Regions from separate parts of the Homo sapiens genome. Here region 1 is linked to region 2. The links are contacts of gene promoters, found by promoter capture Hi-C in human tissues and cell types (Jung and others, 2019). All regions are on one chromosome and are shown on one strand. Each heading gives the region's core, a stretch centred on a gene start or on the middle of the fragment in contact. The rest is flanking DNA. Distances are from core to core; before and after follow the strand shown.

What was found. The method cuts DNA at HindIII sites, captures the fragments that hold promoters and counts their contacts. A contact is called where the count stands out against the background at its distance.
Region 1: a contact is called between a fragment that was not itself captured here and the fragment with the promoter of YBX2 in region 2, in 1 of the 25 tissues and cell types used here (spleen).

The regions. Positions count from the first base shown.
Region 1 is chr17:7,139,481-7,143,424 of GRCh38, forward strand. LOC105371512 (a long non-coding RNA gene) reads left to right here. Exons shown (of 3, transcript XR_934191.3): 3 at 1,198-1,283. It overlaps LOC124903910 (a long non-coding RNA gene), which reads right to left and starts at 3,144. Exons shown (of 2, transcript XR_007065600.1): 1 at 2,995-3,144; 2 at 2,769-2,963. It also overlaps the pseudogene RPL7AP64. The HindIII fragment of the contact is 4,120 bases long and covers 1-3,915 here.
Region 2 is chr17:7,292,409-7,296,244 of GRCh38, forward strand. It overlaps YBX2 (Y-box binding protein 2), which reads right to left and starts at 2,231. Exons shown (of 9, transcript NM_015982.4): 1 at 1,822-2,231; 2 at 1,067-1,130. The coding sequence starts at 2,092. It overlaps LOC124903912 (a long non-coding RNA gene), which reads right to left. Exons shown (of 2, transcript XR_007065602.1): 2 at 3,670-3,836. RefSeq lists silencers at 1,583-1,758, 2,176-2,295, 2,326-2,495. The HindIII fragment of the contact is 17,351 bases long and covers 1-3,836 here.

The DNA of each region.
Region 1 (3,944 bases), core at 606-3,105, 150 kb before region 2:
GAGAAGATGTGCTTTGAGGACCTCTGCTGAGCAGGGCTATGAACTGAAGTGTTTTTTCCTCTGGAGCCCGAGGACACGGTGCAGTTGCTCAGCAGCACTAAGGAGGGACTGGGTGTGCCCTGAGCAAGCTGTCATTGGGGGTTAAAGACTGAAACTGTCACAGCCTAGGTGCCTAGTGGCTTCCGGGACAGAGCTAAGCAGGGCACAACAGGGGTAGACGGTCTGTTCCATTAAGCTTTTGAAGCTCGTTGTCTGAGGTAATACCCAAGGTTCATCGTCTCATGCCAAGGAAATTGAGGATGCAGGCACACACGACGAGTGAGTTTAAGAGCAGAGGTTTAATAGGCAAGAGAAAGAAAAGCTCTCTCTCCTGCAGAGAGGGAGGGGCTCCCAAGTCGGTCTTCTGGCTCCGAGGTGAAATGCACTGGGTGTTATAGGTGAGCTTGAGGAGGCAGTGTCTGATTTGGAGGTTTTGCCTTGTTTTGTTTTGTTTTGTTTTTGAGACAGAGTTTCGCTCTTGTTGCCCAGGCTGGAGTGCAGTGGCACGATCTCGGCTCACCGCAACCTCTGCCTCCCAGGTTCAAGGGATTCTCCTGCCTCAGCCTCCCGAGTAGCTGGAATTACAGGCATGCACACCACGCCCGGCTAATTTTTGTATTTTTAGTAGAGACGGGGTTTCACCATGTTGGTCAGGCTGGTCTCAAACTCCTGACATCAGGTGATCCACCCGGCTCAGCCTCCCAAAGTGCTGGGATTATAGGCGAGAGCCGCCGCACCCACCCGGCCAGGCAGTGTCTGATTTACACAGAGCCCAAAAGATTGCGGGACCAGGTATGCCATTTACATAGTGCAAGAAGAAGCTGGCCGCCCCACCCTAATCTTTTATTATGCAAATGGATTCTCTACCTGGTTGGCATCATGTTGCTGCTTCCTTTACTGTACAGGTGGTTGATAAGGAAAAGGGAAGATGAAGCCTCCATGTTGAACATGCCTGGCCCCAGGTAGCCTTTTCCGATTGGCACGGCTGCCGCCATTCACCCGTTCAAGCTTCCAGCTTGCCTGTCAATGTCTGCAGCTCGATTTTACAGGCTGCTCTTTGTTAGAAAAGAAATGATGTGGGGGCTGCTTTTTGTTAAAAGGGATGCCTTACCGAGGACTCTCTTACCCTCACCAACTGCCTAAGTAATTTCTTTTTAGCTCCCGTATTACTGCATCAAACTATAGCCAGATCCACGGTGACTACAGCGCAGCCACGGCAGGGGTGGCCTCTGGCTGAGCGGGACTTGTTTGCAGCAGCAGCATCTGGTGGCAATCGCAGAAATAAGAAGGCAGTCGAGGCCGGGCACAGTGGCTCATTGCTCATTGCTTGAACCCAGCAGGCAGAGGTTGAAGTGAGCCAAGATCGCGCCACCGCACTCCAGCCTGGGCAACAGAGTGAGACTCCGTCTCAAAAAAAAAAAAAAAAAAAAAAGAATTTCGGCATTTGAGAAAAGGCTTAAGAATCTGGCATTGAACAGGCTATCCAGCCCAAAAGGGACCTCACCTGCTTTGTTGATTGTTGAATGGCCCAACTACATCTGGTTGCAGTGGCAAACGGCTGACCTCCACGAGCAGCTGAAAGTGCCTCCTGCAAGTGACCGACTCATCCAGGCCTTGGACCGAGAAAACAGCTCCTCAACTGCATCAGCTGGACCATGGTACAGACCAGAGACAGGGCAAGAAAAGAAGCAGAGGCTATTGGCCCGTGCAGAGAAGAAAGCTGCCGGCAAAGGGGGCATCTCCATGAAGACCCCAACTGTCCCACGAGCAGGGTTAACCCCGACAGCACCTTGGTGGAGAACAAGAAGCCTCAGCTGGTGGTGACTGCACGTGACTCTCGTCGAGCTTGCTGTCTCTCTGTCTGCGCTGTGTCCTACAGTGGGGTTCCCTTACTGCGTTATCCAGGGGAAGGCAGGACGGAGATGCCTGGTCTGCAGGAAGACCCCAGAAAAGACTGTCACCTTCACACAGGCTCACTGGGAAGACAAAGCAGCTCTGGCTAAGGTGGCGGAAGCTATCAGGACCGATTACAATGGCAGGTGTGACGAGATCCACAGTCACTGGGGAGGCAATGGAACCTCCTTTGCAAAAATTATAACTGAGGAAATTATGACAGTGAAAGAAATCAGACCTAACCGACTCCATCTTGCGTCTAACCTTTAAGCTGTCCTTGTCCATTCCTCGGCGTGGGCTGAACAAACTTCGGGGAGGAATTCAGCTCGTGGTTTGACTCTGAAACAAAATTGATAATAGCCCTTAACCGAAAAGACTCTTCTTGCCTGGGGACCAGTCTGCCTTTGCAAGACTAACAGATTAGCTACGAGATCAGAAATTGTAGTTTAGGGGTCATGCAGACTCTGACTCTAAGAGTCGGAACTTCCCCACATTGCTCCTGGGAATAACATCACTATTGTAAAACCTAAGATCAGTACTTGAGATACTTTTCAGACCCTGCACTCGATAGATCAGCTGACACCACCCAGACTCATAATCTGACCTAACCAGTTCTGCCACCGCACCCAGGAACAGAAGACAGCAAGAAAATCTCACTTTGATCTCCTATGATTCCGTCTCCAACCTGACCAGTCAGCGCTCCTCACTTCCCAAGCCCCTATCCGCCAAATTATCTTTAAAAACTCTGATCTCTGAATGCTGGGAGACTGATTTGAGAAATAGTAAAACTCTGGGCCGTGTCACGTGCGTCCGAGTGAAGAGCCCACCGAACAGGCTTTGTGTGAGCAACAAGGCTATTTATTTCACCTGCGTGCAGGCGGGCTGAGTCCGAAAAGAGAGTCAGCAAAGAGTGGTGGGATTATCACTAGCTCTTACAGGTGTTGGGATAGGCGGTGGAGTTAGGAGCAATGTTTTGCAGGCAGGGAGTGGATCTCACAAAGTATACATGGGTGGGGAGAATTACAAAGAACCTTCTTAAGGTTGTGGGAGATTACAAAGAACCTTCTTAAGGTTGTGGGAGATTACAAAGAACCTTCTTAAGGTTGGGAGAGATTGCAAAGCACATTGATCAGTCAGGGTGGGGCAGAAACAAATCACAATGGTGGAATGTCATCAGTTAAGGCTATTTTCACTTTTTTTGTGGATCTTCAGTTGCTTCAGGCCACCTGGATGTATACGTGCAGGTCACAGGGGATGTGATGCCTTAGCTTGGGCTCAGAGGCCTGACAGGCCGCGCGTGGTGGTTCACGCCTGTAATCACAGCCCTTTGGGAGGCTGAGATGGGGGGATTACGAGGTCAAGAGATCGAGACCATCCTGGCCAACATGGTGAAACCCCGTCTCTACTAAAAATACAAAAATTAGCTGGGCATGGTGGCACGCGCCTGTAGTCCCAGCCACTCAAGAGGCTGAGGCAGGAGAATCTCTTGAACCTGGGAGTTGGAGGCTGCAGTGAGCTGAGATCACGCCATTGCACTCCAGCCTGGGCAACAAGAGTGAAACTCCATCTCAAAAGAAAAAGCCTCCGGTCTCCCGCACAGCCGGCTCTGCGTGAATTGCTCTTTCTCCATTGCAATTTCCCTGTCTTAATAAATCGGCTGTGTCTAGGCAGCAGGCAAGGTGAACCCGTTGGGTGGCTACAGCAATGCCCTGGGTCCAAAATCTGGCTCAGACATTGCTAAACTGCAAAAGGCAAAGGCTAAAGAACTTGCCACTAAACTGGGTTAAACGTCCACTGTTGAGTTTTCTGTACATAAATTCTTTTTTTAATTCTCCTTCAAAAAAAATACTGGTCTATCAAAGTGGCTCCTGCCAGTAATCCCAGCAATTTGGGAGGCTGAGGCAGGAGAATGGCTTGAGCCCAGGAGCTCGAGACCAGCCTGGGCAACATAGTGAGACCCCTCTCCCTCCAAAAAAAAAAAATTAGCCAGGCGTGGTAGCACATGCCTGTAA
Region 2 (3,836 bases), core at 981-3,480:
CCTGGCCAACACCCCCTCCCCCAACCCCCATCAGGGTTGGAAAATTCCAGTCTTCTTCCTTCTATAGTCAAGGAGGCAGAAAGTGCAGATGGGGCCAGAGGGGCAGAACAAGTTTGAGAAGGGAACAATGTGTCAGGAACTTGCTCTAAACAGCTGCCAAACTTTATTCTCATCCTCAGCCTGGAGGTGAATCCCAGAGTCAGGACCACTCTCAACACGCGTGGGACCAAGGGTGAGAGAGAAGAAAACATTCACCCATTCTCTATCATAAGAACCCCAGTGGGTGGGGGGAGGGGAGAAAGGAAAAGTTTTCCTGGAGGCACTCTGCCCCCGACCCAGTCTGCCATTTCCAGAATTAGACAGGGACCCTTCCCCAGAACAAACGTTTTAGCTTTAAAGCACTTGGATCTGCACAAAGGTCAGCCTGCTAAGAGGGAACTAGGGCCTCCCAGGAGAGCCAGGCCGGGCAGGATGCCTGGGCTGGGGAAGGGCCCACTGGGGGAGACCTGGCTCTGCTCAGAATCCACTGCCACAGCCTCTCCCGGTGCTGAGGGGTGGGGCTGCCTACTGAAGGAAAGCAGCAGCCTCTGGCTCCTTCCTCCTGACCCCCACTGTCAGCCTCAGTCCCAACAGGTGGAGGGCTCGAATGAGCCACAGCTCTTTAAGGGAGTTGAGTTGTGAGTGCTGCCATAACAGGAAATCAGTTGAGGATTCCAGCCGGGGGCCCTGAGGCACAGAGAACCCTATAATACATTCTGCCCCAAAGGCATGTCAGAGTAAAAGTAATGAAGCAATTCCAGAAGGTGAGATGAGAAGCTGGCAGGGTCAGAGCCAGGTTTGCCAAGTTCCTGAATCATTAATCCTCCGCTACCCTTGAAGATGCGGAGGAGGCTTCCTCTTGTCACGAAGCACACATTTGTGCTGCGGTTAAAGGCTTTCAACCAGCATCAGCTGGACATTGCAACCATGTGCCTCCGCAGGGGTCGATGAGGTTGGGCGGGTGTCCAGTCCCACAGGCCAGCTGGGAAGACACCCATTCCACCCCCGCCCTGGGTTCCTTGGATACCTGTTGATGAATCCGTAACCATTCCGGACGTTGAACCATTTGACAGTGCCCAGGACTTGGATTGCTGCCAGGCAGAGATGCAGTGGGGACAGTGAGATGGGGGGAAGAGATGGAGTTGAACTCAGTTTTGAGACACTCCAAAACAAAAAAAAATCTAGCCTACTGCCTTATTACCTATTCAGGTTACCTTCAAGCCAACCAGGTTTCACTAGTAGCTTCAAGGTATTCCTACCCTAGTCCACCAAATGAAATCACCCACACAGGGACTCAGGCTTTCAAAAAGCCTTCCAACTCTAAGTCACGTTCCCCACATCCTACAAATCCAGCCCCTTCACCTAGAACTGGGTACTCACCTGGTCTGCAAAGTGCCGCCCCCAGGTCATAACTGAGGGTTTTTCTAGCCCTCCCAATGCAAGGGTCCCCAGTGCACCTGCTTGCCAGGCTCAGAGGTTTGCCTAGTTCTAACCCAGTCAACTAGGCACTGTGTCCCGCCCGGGGGCGTGGCCGGACCCTGGGGCTTTATTCTCCACCCCAAGACCTTAGCTGAACCTGCCGGCCCCGCCCTCTCTCCCAGGAAGGTACGGCAGGATTTCCCACCAGGGGAATCCACTTTGGTGCGCAGCTCCCAGCCCAGTTAGCGCTCTGGGCCTGCGGGCCAGGCCGCCTTTGGTTTTCCGGATCCTGCCGGGCTCCACACTGCCCCTCCCCCAGCCCGCCGACCCCTCAGAGCCGCCCTGTGCGCGCCTGCCCCTCACCCAGCACCGGCTTGTCCGCCTGACTCCGGGCCGGGGGGGCGGGGGTTCCCGAGACCGCCGTCGCCGGATTGCCAGGGGTGCGGGAGCCCGGCGCCGAGGGGGTCCCAGCAGCGGGGCCCGAGGCGGCTCCGCCCCCGCCGCCCGCCCCGCCGCCTTTCTGCGGCTCCCCTGCGGGCACCGGTACCACCACCGCTACCACCCCTGCCGCCGTCGCGGGCACCGTCGCCGCGGGGACCGCTGTAGCCCCCGCTGCCGCCTCCACCTCGCTCATCCCGCCGGGTCCAGTACCGGCCACAGCCGCCACCGCCCCGGCCCCTCCCCCCGGCTCGCGAACCCACCGCCCTGCTCGGTCCTCGCGCCCCGAGCCTCGCCCACACGCCGGCAGCGGGCCCGGAGCCGAGGCCAATGGCAGCCCGCTGCCGCCGCTCGCGCAGACCCCGCCTCCCGACCACGGGCCAATCCCAGCCCAGCAGCACCCCCGGACCGCACGCCGACCCCGCCTCCCGGACTTCGCACCGCGGCCCCGGCCCCCGCCAGCCGCCCAGTAAGTACACCTGGGCCCCGCCCCCTGGCCGCCACGTGACGGCCCCCGGCCCAACCCATTGGCCGGCGGCCCCTTTCCCCTCCCCCCTCCGCCCCTTTCCACCGGCCGCGGGAAATCAAACGGGCCGGTCGCGCCCCAACCGCCACCTGGCCTCTGCGGGAAGGGCGGGGCCGGGGCCGCAGTGCCAAGGTTGCCCCTAACGACCTGAGCGAGGGGCGGGAATCTGCAGCCTCGGTTCTGGCAGTGAGTAGCACCGCTCGCCTCCACCCTCGAGACCGACCTTGCCCGTATGCTGCCAGGTGCAGACGCCTTCCGGCCACCACCGCCCTTGGCACCCTCTCCCCACAGGACGGCCCTGCACACCCTGGGGCTGCGGGATCCAACCGCAGGATAGGCTGGAAAGCGCAGCAGAATGGTTTTCCCGGCTCACACTTGCTCCCATGAGCCAGGACCCCCTACTTTTCTTTTTTCTTTCTTTTTCTTTTCTTTTCTTTTTTTTTTTTTTTTTGAGACAGGGTCTCGCCCTGTCGCCCAGACTAGAGTGCAGTGGCGCGATCTCGGCTCGCTACAACCTCCGCCTCCCTGGTTCAAGCGATTCTCCTGCCTTGAGCCACCTCAAGGTGGCTCCCGGCCTGCCCCTACCTATGTTTGTATTGGAAACAAGGTTTACAAGTAGTACAATGCGCAATTCTTCTTCGCTGAGTTTGTTTGTTTGTTTGTTTTGACACAAGGTCTCCCTCTGTCGCCCGGGCTGGAGCGCAGTGCGCGATCTGGGCTCACTGCAGCCTCTGCCTCCCGGGTTCAAGCGATTCTCCCTCCTCAGCCTCCTGAGTACCTGGAATTACAGGCTTGCGCCACCACAACCTGGCTAATTTCTGTATTTTTAGTAGAGATGGGGTTTCACCATATTGGCCAGGCTGGTCTCGAACTCCTGACCTCTGGTGATCCGCCCGCCTCAGCCTCCCAAAGTGTTGGGATGACAGGGTAAGCCACCGTGCCCGGCCTTCGCTGAGTTTTGATCAATGTGTCCACCCATGTGGCCCATACCGACCGCTGCAGCTCTGATGTCTACCGCCCTAGACTGGCTTTGGGGTCTCTCACGTCTGTATGCCGGGGGCTGTGGTCTCCGGCCAGGCGTCAAGCTCCAGCGGACTCGAGGCCTTTTGCACATGCGGTTTCCTCTGCCGAAAACGCGCCTTCGTGTCTCCAGGTGGCTCTCTCCAAGCAGCAGCTTACGTGCCACTCTTCGCCATCACACCATTCCTTATTTTTCTAATGGCATTTTTGAAAATATGACATGATCCTGACCATTTGCTTATTTTATTTCCCTGCACACAGTGGGCTGTAAACTCCACAGCAGTAAGAGCCTTGTAGTTAAGCTGGACGCCTGCAGCAGTGCCTGGTACAACGTACACGTTCAATATTTATCGAATACATGAACGGCCCCCATTCCACAGATGAGAGGACTGAG